2 separate regions of the Homo sapiens genome follow, and region 1 is linked to region 2. The links are contacts of gene promoters, found by promoter capture Hi-C in human tissues and cell types (Jung and others, 2019). All regions are on one chromosome and are shown on one strand. The core of a region is centred on a gene start or on the middle of the fragment in contact, and the rest is flanking DNA. Distances in the headings are between cores, read along the strand shown. Region 1 overlaps EPS8 (EGFR pathway substrate 8, signaling adaptor). Region 2 holds the start of DERA (deoxyribose-phosphate aldolase).

Region 1 (5,230 bases), core at 796-3,295, 140 kb after region 2:
TCTAACAGTCCTGGAATATACAACTTTACCTAATAGAAAATAATTTTGTTTCAGTTAATGAAATTTATCTGTCAATAAAGAAATATTAAATAAGTGCCTATTAAGTGCTAGTACTAAATAATGAGAATACTCTAATTGACAAGATAGACAACATTCTTATCCTTGTGGACTGCGTGATGTTAGACACCTAAATGAAAAGAAGCATAAAAACTTAACAGAAGCATCAGGTTCTAGGTAAGGGCTCAAAAATCTGGAAAATAAAGGCTAATCTTTTTTGCTTTTCTCGCCCTCTTTCCTTAATATAGATTCACATTTTTTCCTATTCAAATGTAATGATATTCACATTTTGTATTGTTTTTCTACATATACTGGTACTGTGGATTTATAAAATAAGTCTATTTCCAAATTACATGTATTTTACAATGATTCCACAAAGGAACGTTGGCTATTTATGAGCTTTGGGGAAAATTACAGTATATCAGTACTCCCTTTGAAAGATTTTAAACTATTAAGGTCAATTTAAGATCAGACCAGACAAGTGTGGTTTGTGTCATTTTTATATACGGTATTCAGTATTTTTTCCTGCAAGCTTTTGGGAGTGAAGAAGCCATTATTCATAAAATGAATTCATATGTAACACCTTAGGCTGATCGTAAAGTGTTAAACCTTAGAGATGGGGAAAATTCTATTGTCTTGAATTTTGAATGTGGGTAACTTTAAGACTGCCATATGAATTGCCAAGTTGCAAAATTGTTTTTGCATTTCACTTGCAAGCAAGGAAAATGTGGACTCCTTCTTTAGTGGGGCCAAGCGCATTCTAACACACCTCTCAAATTACACACCACTGAAATGATACTCACAATGGGTTTGGCTCATATGTTTCTAGTTAGCTACTATGAATGAAAGATTCATAACTATCTGTTTCAAAAAACTTCCTTATTTGCACTGCAGGGAGCTTAATTGTTTGGTAGCAGGGTCAAGAATTGCTTTTAAATACTAAGCATGCATGGATTGGGCCATTATACACTGAACTAAAAAAAAGATTTCTGTGCACAAAGAAGGCTTTAGATAAATATTTGTCAAATCATTGATTACTTTGTTGGCTGTGGAAGAATAAAAGTCCCTGAGTTTTCCCACCCTGTTGGTAATTTGGACCAAATATTTTGGTCACTATTTTTTATATATATATATATTTATATATTTATATGTTTAAAATATATATATGTGTGTATATATATTTTATATGTATGTATGTATATTTATATTTATATATGTATATATATTTTATATGTGTACATATATATTTATATGTGTATATATATATATATGTATATGTATAACAAACCTGTAACCTTTCCCTTACCTTGCCTATTGAGCATTGTAGAATACAGGATAACAGGGAGGAAGAAGTCATTCATACTTACTAGACAGATGGTTGGCGTCCCTGTGGCAACCTTGTGATCTAATAATTTTCCAAGTTCTGTCTACCTAACTGAAGAGTAATAGCTGTTTACTGTTTGCTTAAATAACACTAGGCCTGTATGCAAGTTGCAGGGGGGGTGGGGTGAAGGAGGGGGGTAGATATATAAATTCATCTCTGCAGTTTTATCAAATCTGTAAAAGAGGTGTAGCATACAGGCACCTCTTTTCCAAAAGAAAAAATTCATTAGTTCCTCATTTTGGTTATTCCTTCTTATTCGTGGCTCAAGCAAACCATTACCAGAGAATCTTTTTTTTTTAATTGATGACACGCTAAAAATTAGTTATTTTTGAAGAATTTTTTTCAAAGGTAGTATTTGAATATATTGGTAAAAGATGGTGGAATTATTTTCCTGCTTTTCTGCAGTAAATTAGTTTGTACACTTCTGGTGACATTTGCTCGACTATCCAAAGAAGATGAGGCTGTTAAAGAAATTTTAACAAATATTTATGAATGCATGAAATTGATTATGTTTATTAAAGTCACAAAAAATTTCTAGCCTTTATTATAAATTTTATAAATTGCTACTGCAAAAATGAGAGAGAATTATAGTTACCAATGTGAATTACTTTTGTTTGGTCAGACATTGACTTCCCCTGATTGCCACCTTGTCACTCTGTTTACTAGACACAGATAGGAACTTCTTTCTTCTTCCTATGATATGCATTTGATTCATGTCATATGCTGTCAAAATAATGTTGTCCTGAGATTATTTGCTGGAATGATAAAACTGATGCAGACTATGTCAGCTAGACTTGTTAATATCACATTATTCTTTCTAATAAGTACTTGTACTTAGAATACTTACTTGCTTCTGCTGCATCATGTCTCTCTTCTTATCCCCAATGCTTTTTTTTTTTCTTAAATCTCTCTCCATAGTCTCTTGAAGGGGCTGATAAACACAGTTCTAAAATATTTCATGTATCTATCTCCCTTTAACACATAATTTGGTCCTGTGCATATGTTTAATACCAGGGTATCCCCATTCATTTCCTCCTTCTTCTGAGGATGATTGAAATTTTGTGGCTTCATGATTGCCTTCTAATTTTCAACTTGACTTAAACCAGAGCATAGTAAAAGAACCATTAATAATCACAATTAATAACATTAGAATGTAATTTTAATAATTCAGGCCTCTATTGCAAAATGTATTATGGAGTCAGTTTAAAATGTGATTCTTCTCTCTCTTATATGTACCTATGTCCAAGTGTGTATATAGTAAGCTCTTGGAGTTCAGGTGTGTCTTGGTGAGGTATTCTGCATATATGGAACATAGTCTCTTAACATCCTTTTGCTGCTGCCTTATTTCTGTCTTGTTTCCACCTAAGATTCTTGAAGAGAAGCTTAATGTCTATGGTTTCCTCTTCACTTCTCCTACATCAGCGAGCCCACTGTGGTCTGATGCTGAGCTTATGTCTGTAGGTCATCTGCCATCTTCTAAAAGCTAAACCAAAAGGAAAATGTTTAGTTTTTACTTGATTTTGCTGTAGCATTTACCTGTAAACTCTTTGAGGACATAAACTGTGTCTCGTTCACTATGAATTTTTACCATTTAGGGTTTCTGGTACTTTGTAGACCCGTCTATTTGCTGAATGAATGTATGTTTGTAATGATTTTTGCCTTCTTTTAAATAAAAAGAATATTCTCTTCCTTTGGCTCCTGTGGTGGTGCTGTTCTTTCCTGGTTAACATCTACCTCTGCTTTGTTACCCATCTACACTTAGATGTTGATTCAGAAGCTCTGCTACTTGGGATGGAATAGGTATCCAAAATTCTTCCTAAGTGAAACTCTCAAGTAAGTTCTAGCACCATCTGTTGGCAGCAGTGAGAGCCAATGCTTTATTTATTTATTTATTTATTTTGTGCCTCAGTTCATGGTTTTGTGTATTCTCAGAACACTCACAAGTTGAAAAGTTTCTGGATTTTCTGGAATTATTTTCTTAGCCTTCATCTCATTTCATGTTACAGCCTAAGTTTCATTCTCTTTCTAGGGAACCTCAGTGTTTCGTTTAGAACAGTTACTCTCAGTTCTTCAGGTGATGCCTTTCTTGGGAACTCTAACTCTATTTATGACTGAAGCTGAATATCACACAGGCCCCTCAGACTTCACATTTCCCAAAATTAATTTCTTGCTTTTACTCTGGCCCCCTCATCTCTTTCTGTCTCTCTACTTGGAGTGACTTTTATCCAAATGACAACCTTAGAAATCTGAATTTTTCCTGGACTCTTTTTCTTACCCACCTTTCTGCCCCACCTATATGTCAACAGTCATTAAATCTTTTTGAGTCAGCAAATGGCTGATAGAGCACTCTCCTCTTCCGTCTCTCACTGCTAATCATGTTAACTACCTTGCTTAAAACTCTTCAGTGGTTCCCCATATGCTCATTAGGGTGGTACAAATGAAGACTACGGGCGCCCGCCACTATGCCCTGCTAATTTTTTGTATTTTTAGTAGAGACGGGGTTTCACCGCATTAGCCAGGATGGTCTCGATCTCCTGACCTCGTGATCCACCCACCTCGGCCTCCCAAAGTGCTGTGATTACAGGCATGAGCCACCGCCCCCGGCCTTCCCCTTTCTTTTGTATTGAAATTAGCTCTCAATACTGCCACAAAGAATTCTTTGTAATGAGTTAGCCACAAAAATAGTTCAGTTCTAGGAAGAATTTCTTTTCTTTTTCTTTTCTTTTTTTTTTTAAGAGACAGTCTTGTTCTGTTACCCAGGCTGGAGTGCAGTGCAATCCTACGGAGAATTTCTAGCCCATTAGAAGAACACATCCATGACCCCCCTTCTCCTTTACCTGCCATATGCAACTGATTGCCAGATTTTGCTGCTTTCACATTAAAGTTAACCCTCGCCTTTGCCCCTTCTGTTCAGTTTTTCACTGTTTCAAGGCTATATGACCATTTTCTTAAGCTATTCCCTCCTGAATGTCTCTGTATCTGCCTCTGTCCTACTTCAATTCATGTTAATTACTACTTTCAGATCAGTCTTGCTAAAGCTGAGTTCAGATGATGTCAGTCCATTGCTTTAAAAACTGCTAACAAAGGTTTCCTTTTCAGGCTTTTCACAACCTGGTGACTTTCTTTAATTTTAGCCTCACTACCCGCTTTCCTATAAATTACTCATTAGCCAAAGTGAGGTACTATACACTTTCATCTGTATACTTCAGTTTTCCCAGTCTGTGCTTCAGTGTCCCTCTTGTCTATATTTGGAATAACTTTTTAATTTATCTCTATATACAAATCGAATCCATCAGTTAAGGTCTACTTTATCTGCCATTGTAGAATAATCTACCTTCTTTGGTACCTCTCCCACTTAATATTTTTTTTCTCAGGATCGCCTAGGCACTTATTTTCTTTCGTGAACTGTAATTTATATACATGTGTGTTACCTGATACCAGGTATCAAGCTCCTCTAAGGTAGGCTCCATATCTGATTTTTACTTTTGGACAGGCCTTAAAGCCTGGAGTGGTGCTTTTGTGTGATAGACGCTCAATGTGTATTGGTTAAATGATGAAATAAATGAATTTTTTCTTGCATCTTTCATCATGAGATTTGTGCCAGTAACATCCCAACTCTCAATATGAAAAGGAAAAAAATACTGACCACAGTTTTTACTGAGCCTAAATTGAAATATTCTGAAAAAGCTTAATCATGGTGACAATCAGAATGTACTCTGTTATTTAGGATAAACCCTTCTGGCAAACATGCCTGTTTTTCAGGTTCCCATTCTTTTAAATGTGGGCTAT
Region 2 (5,417 bases), core at 786-3,285:
TCAGTTTAAACCTGTTTGGATTAAGGATTAATACCCGTGAAGGAAAAAAATCTGATTTTAACAAATAAGATAATAAATACAAAGCTATGATCATTTCGATAGCTGCATAAAAACCACATTTACTATTGTTCTACCTGGCAATTATTTATGTCTATTACTTTTCAACAAATGAATGGAAGTGATTGATTCTAATTACTGCAAATAAATAAATTTAAAAATGGTTCAATTATGTTTTTTGAAAGAAAAATTTAAAATGTCTAAGTTTTGGGAAATTTAGGGCACATCCTTGATGTATGCATAGTCACATGGTCATATTCCTGGGAATACCCAGGTAAGACACCACCCCAAACCTGCCCCATATCCACCACCTTCAAGGATATTCCAATCTAAGAAATAATGCCGTTATTACTAAAGACCACGTTCCAGAGATAGGACTAGAGTTTAAAACATAATCAGCTAGAGGACAGTGACTAAAACAAAATCAACCAGGTTAGTAAATCAACTGTCTTTAAAATGATAGATTTACTCTCTTACCATTCGACAAAAAATCCAGAACACCTCTTGGAAGTGCAGACTGTTTAAGTACCAGTCACTTTTAAGGAGGGCGAAAAGGACCTACCTGTATGTGTTACATATAATTTACAGCCAATTTTCTCAAAATTAGCCCCTAAAACCATAACTCCATATACTAATACTATCTATACTGAAGACTTACTAGGTGTCCACAATATACCAAACTACTTTACATGTATCCTATTTAATCTCCTAACGGCCTTATAAGGTAACTACCACTAAAATAACCATTTTACAGATGAAGAAACTTAAGCGCAAAGTTATTAATTTGTCCGAAGTCACACAGGTAAGAAGTTAAAGATCCTGGATACACAGATATCCAAGCTATAATACTTAAACGAGACGCTTAAACCTTCTCTTGATCATGGTTTTGCTGTTTGAATTATAAATTTTTCACATGTTAAGAAATCTGAAGAAAAATTCTCTTCTGCCTTGGGATCCTGTTGATCTGTGACCTTATCCCCAACCCTGTGCTCTCTGAAACATGTGCTGTGTCCACTCAGGGTTAAATGGATTAAGGGCGGTGCAAGATGTGCTTTGTTAAACAGATGCTTGAAGGCAGCATGCTCGTTAAGAGTCATCACCACTCCCTAATCTTAAGTACCCAGGGACACAAACACTGCGGAAGGCCGCAGGGTCCTCTGCCTAGGAAAACCAGAGACCTTTGTTCACTTGTTTATCAGCTGACCTTCCCTCCACTACTGTCCTATGACCCTGCCAAATCCCCCTCTGCGAGAAACACCCAAGAATGATCAATAAAAAAAAAAAAAAAAGAAATCTGAACTAAGGTTTCTTGCCAGTATTTGAACAATATAAAAAAAGATGAAAACTGGGAAATAATACAGGTACTTTAACAAATCTTTGTAACTCTAAAATCCCATGAATCTGCAGTGTTACATTTTGAGCACAGACGGCTGACAACTTTTCCACGAGCACGGCCACTTCAAGGTTACGGTTAAAATTATCTACGGAAATACTGCATTAAATTACACAAGTATTCTATTAAAAGGAGGAGAAAGAAGGTTTTTATCTGTTTTTACCTGCTTGGGGGTTGTTTGTTTTGGGTTTTGTTTTTTGGGTTGTTGGGTTTTCCAACCAGCGAGCTAGAGTGAACGAAAAGGCAGGAAGATAATAATCTAACCCTTTCCTACTCCTTCCGCATACAAGAGTAAAAGCTTAGGTGCAAAGACAAGCGGCGCGAACGTGCCGGGTTCGGCCTTTACTTGGGGTGAGGGCTGACCAGACGCCACTGCTTCCCGCCCCAGCGAAAACCCCTCGGGGACCCACAGCCAGGGCACTGGGCGGCAGCAGGCCCCGCGCTAGTCCCGGCGGCGCTGAACGCGAGGGAGAGGGGATGGGGAGCCCCGCGGGCCCCTTACCGAGCTCGGTGCCCCGATTGTGCGCGGACATGGCGCGGGCAGCTCCGGAGCTGCCGGCTGGTAGGCGCCCGCCTCTGCGCCGCGCCCGGCCCTTCCTCCTTCCCGCCAGCTGGAGCGCTCGCCCCGCCCCTGCCCGCTCCCGGGGCGGAGTCGCGGGCCCGGGCTACGAGGTCTGTACCCTAGGAATATTGCTCCGCAAGGAAATCTCGCTGCTCCCCTCCCCCGTCTTCTCCACGAGGTACCGAACCGGAGCGCTAAGTAGCTCCCGGAAATAATGCTACCAACACCCTTTAAAAAATACTGAAGTTGCCAATTGCACGTAATAAAAATATTCCTAGAAACTTTTAACTGTAAGATTATATAACAAGAAGGAAGAAGATCCAAGTGCAGAGCTCTGCAACTTAAGGTCTGAAATGTCAGCAGGGATCCCATATCCTTGTTAGGGAAACCAAGGTGCAATCAAGGGCCCCGGGGCACACTGACTTTTCTAATCTACACATCATGAAAAGAAGCAGCTATGTGGCCTGAAGAAGGCAAGGGCTTAGGAGTCAGAAGACCTGGTTTCTTAGCCAAGCTCGGGCAATAATTAAATGTGTGACCCTGGGCAAATTAACTGCTTTTCCGAGCTTCATTTTTCTCATCTGTAAAAGAAGACCTTGACAATTTCTTGGTTCTTCAAAATACTATGATTCTATAAAGGTAAAATGCTTCAGCCTGATTTCTCTGTGACCAAGAGGTTAAAATCGTCGAGTCACTCCACAATCTCAATATAGTTAACTTATCTGTACTCACGTTTAGAGGCACCTCTGCTATGAAAACAGTACAGTTAGTTATGATTTGTCTACCATGAGCCAGTTATTGTGCTAGGTGCTTTCATACATCATATATAGATGTATGATAGCATTTGAGTCTCTGAACAATCCTGCCAATAATGTATTTTATCTCCATTGCTGTAACTTTAGACATCAAAGTTCTGAATAGAAAGGCATCCTGGTATAGGGGAAATACAGTGAGCTCAAAATGAGCTGAACCCATTAATATACCAGCTCTTCCATTTAATAAATGTAACTTGGCAGTTCTGGAAATAATAGTCTGTCTACTTACCTGTAAAGTGGAGATGATCAAAATATGTTCACCTTGCAAAGCTGTTGAATGTATGCAAGGCACCTAGTACATAACATGGCATACAGTAGATACTTAAAAAATGGAAGCTGTTAATGTTATTGTCAAGTTCACACAGTAATTACTGAGCTGTTTTAAATAGGAATAGTAATATTTGTATACTCCTCTACATTGAGCTTTCAGCCTTGTCCACACACAGCCACTGTTGAATGTTTCGGATGTGTGTAGATCTTACTCATACATACTATAGCACTTTTCTTTTTTATATTAACCTTGAAAAAGAGAAAAGCAGGCCCTGAAAGCCTGGAGCTGGCCTGAAACTCACAACTGGACCATGGTTTTCCCTGGTTAAACGTATACAATTTCACAGCACAGCATCAGCCAAGGCCATTGTGACCACAATGAATCAACAAAAACATAATCATAATCATGTCTGATAATAGAAAACCATGAATATTGTTCAAATAGCCCCTATCCTAGCTATTATGACTTCTTTACCAATCAGTTCTAGCTTCACTCCATTCCTATGTTTTAGATAAGAATTAAGATGCACTACTATCACCAGTTCCTACCATCATCCAGTCCAGATCCTTCCTTGAACTTTCCCCAAATCACCTACGACAGGCCCAAATCCTATGTAGTTTCTAACATCCTCTTACTGAGACACCTCACATTAGGTGCCCATGGCAAGCATTCTCCCTTGTTACAATGTCAATAAACACAACTTTGTCCACTTGTAGGTGTGTTACTGGTGGTCTCTGGCTGGAGATCATTCACATCTCTAGAAGATACAAAGGCAATACATGAAATTCTATTTTTAGAAGTAAACACAACTCCAAACCAGATTCCATACCATTCATTACATAAATGTTTGTTTGTTTGTTTTTAAATTGTGATATCCTAAATTAGTTGAAAAATCAGAATTAGGGCAGCCTCTTAAAGCAATGTTTTAGCAATGTATCAGTCAAGAATTTCTCAAGGACTTTTTCTAAAATGGACCTGTTGAATGTATTAATCTCAAATTAATCTCTGCAGTTTAAAAGTATGTTAATTTGGCAACATTAGGAGAGACAGCAGGGATAGTATGCAAAAAATGAGTTTCTTTCACAGAGAAATGTTCCTATATTTCATTTTGTGAAGATTCCTTTTACATTTATTGCCTTATGAAACTTCTGAAGTATCCCTAAGGCAAGTCCCCTCAAAGAAAGAGCTATAGACCACTACATGGGAATCACCCAAGAGCTTTTTCTAAAGCAGTTCTGGGCTTCCTCACAGCCCTACTCAATCAGAGTATCTAGGACCCTGGAATCTGTAATTTTAATATTTCTTCAAACAATGTTTATGCAAACTAAACGTAAAGAACCACCAATGAGAAGCAGAGGAAAATAAACTATGCATGCCAATCTGGAGCCATAGCCCAAACTGACTCTTACAAGAGTAAAATTGCTTTTAAAGTATTACATGTTGTATTTTTTAAGCCATGTAAATTTTGCATGCTATTCCTATTCATTGATGTTTTTCAATGTAAATTTTAAACTGCCAAATAAATTACCTAATTATCCTCCCACCCTCACTCCTCCTTTAATTAAAATTAAAGCTCTAGGAATATGTAATATTTATCTTGAAGCTTCTAAGAACCTACCAGTCCTGGGAGATAGGAGTAAAACAAATTTTAAGGTCCAAAGGGCATAGATCATTTGTGTTTGGTTCATCATATGTAGGATCTAGTACAGTAGTTGGCAATTAGTAGACTATAAATATTTGTTAGATGAATGAGTGTATATTGCTGTCTTTGCTACTTTTCTTATACTGCCTACTGTTTTATCCAGTCAAATTTCATTTGATATAGTCTCTACTCCTATGATTTCTAAGAGCAATTATTCACAAGTTCATTAGGTAAATAACCACTTAGACTACAAACTGTCAGCCAGCATTTCTAGGTCAGATGGAGAAAAGTGTAGGAGCAGGGAGGACTATGAAAAATTGTGAATATTAGAGTCAAAATATTTTAGAACTGGAGGGAGACTAATAGAACATCCAATTCCTAGTTCATGGTAAAATAAAAAAAAAATAAGAATTATACTGAGTGTTTTATGAAGCTAAATTTATTCAATTTAAAGAACACTCCTTCATTCTGAGACTACGTTGTTCACTACCAATTTGAATTTTAAAATGTCGTTTTATAAAGATCGTGGCGTTAGATAATTATTTTTTCTTTTTTAATAGCCTCAGTTGGCTAGAAGCCGACCATTCCATCTCCTCTCCCCCATTTTGAAGTCTATTGGCCACAGAATCCTAAAGCTTGGGAATCACTGATACAATATATAATACTCGCTAATATTA

The links. Contacts are between HindIII fragments. The study calls those that stand out against the background at their distance.
Region 1: a fragment that was not itself captured here is called in contact with the fragment with the promoter of DERA in region 2 in 1 of the 25 tissues and cell types used here (H1 embryonic stem cells).

Annotation. Positions count from the first base shown.
Region 1 is chr12:15,770,660-15,775,889 of GRCh38, reverse strand. All of the region lies in intron 1 of EPS8 (EGFR pathway substrate 8, signaling adaptor), which reads left to right. Among named protein-coding and RNA genes, the nearest start is that of EPS8, 16 kb to the left of the region's middle. The HindIII fragment of the contact is 3,863 bases long and covers 114-3,976 here.
Region 2 is chr12:15,907,950-15,913,366 of GRCh38, reverse strand. It overlaps DERA (deoxyribose-phosphate aldolase), which reads right to left and starts at 2,035. Exons shown (of 9, transcript NM_015954.4): 1 at 1,953-2,035. The coding sequence starts at 1,983. RefSeq lists enhancers at 857-1,600, 1,601-2,345 and silencers at 1,748-2,097, 2,118-2,177. The HindIII fragment of the contact is 4,741 bases long and covers 298-5,038 here.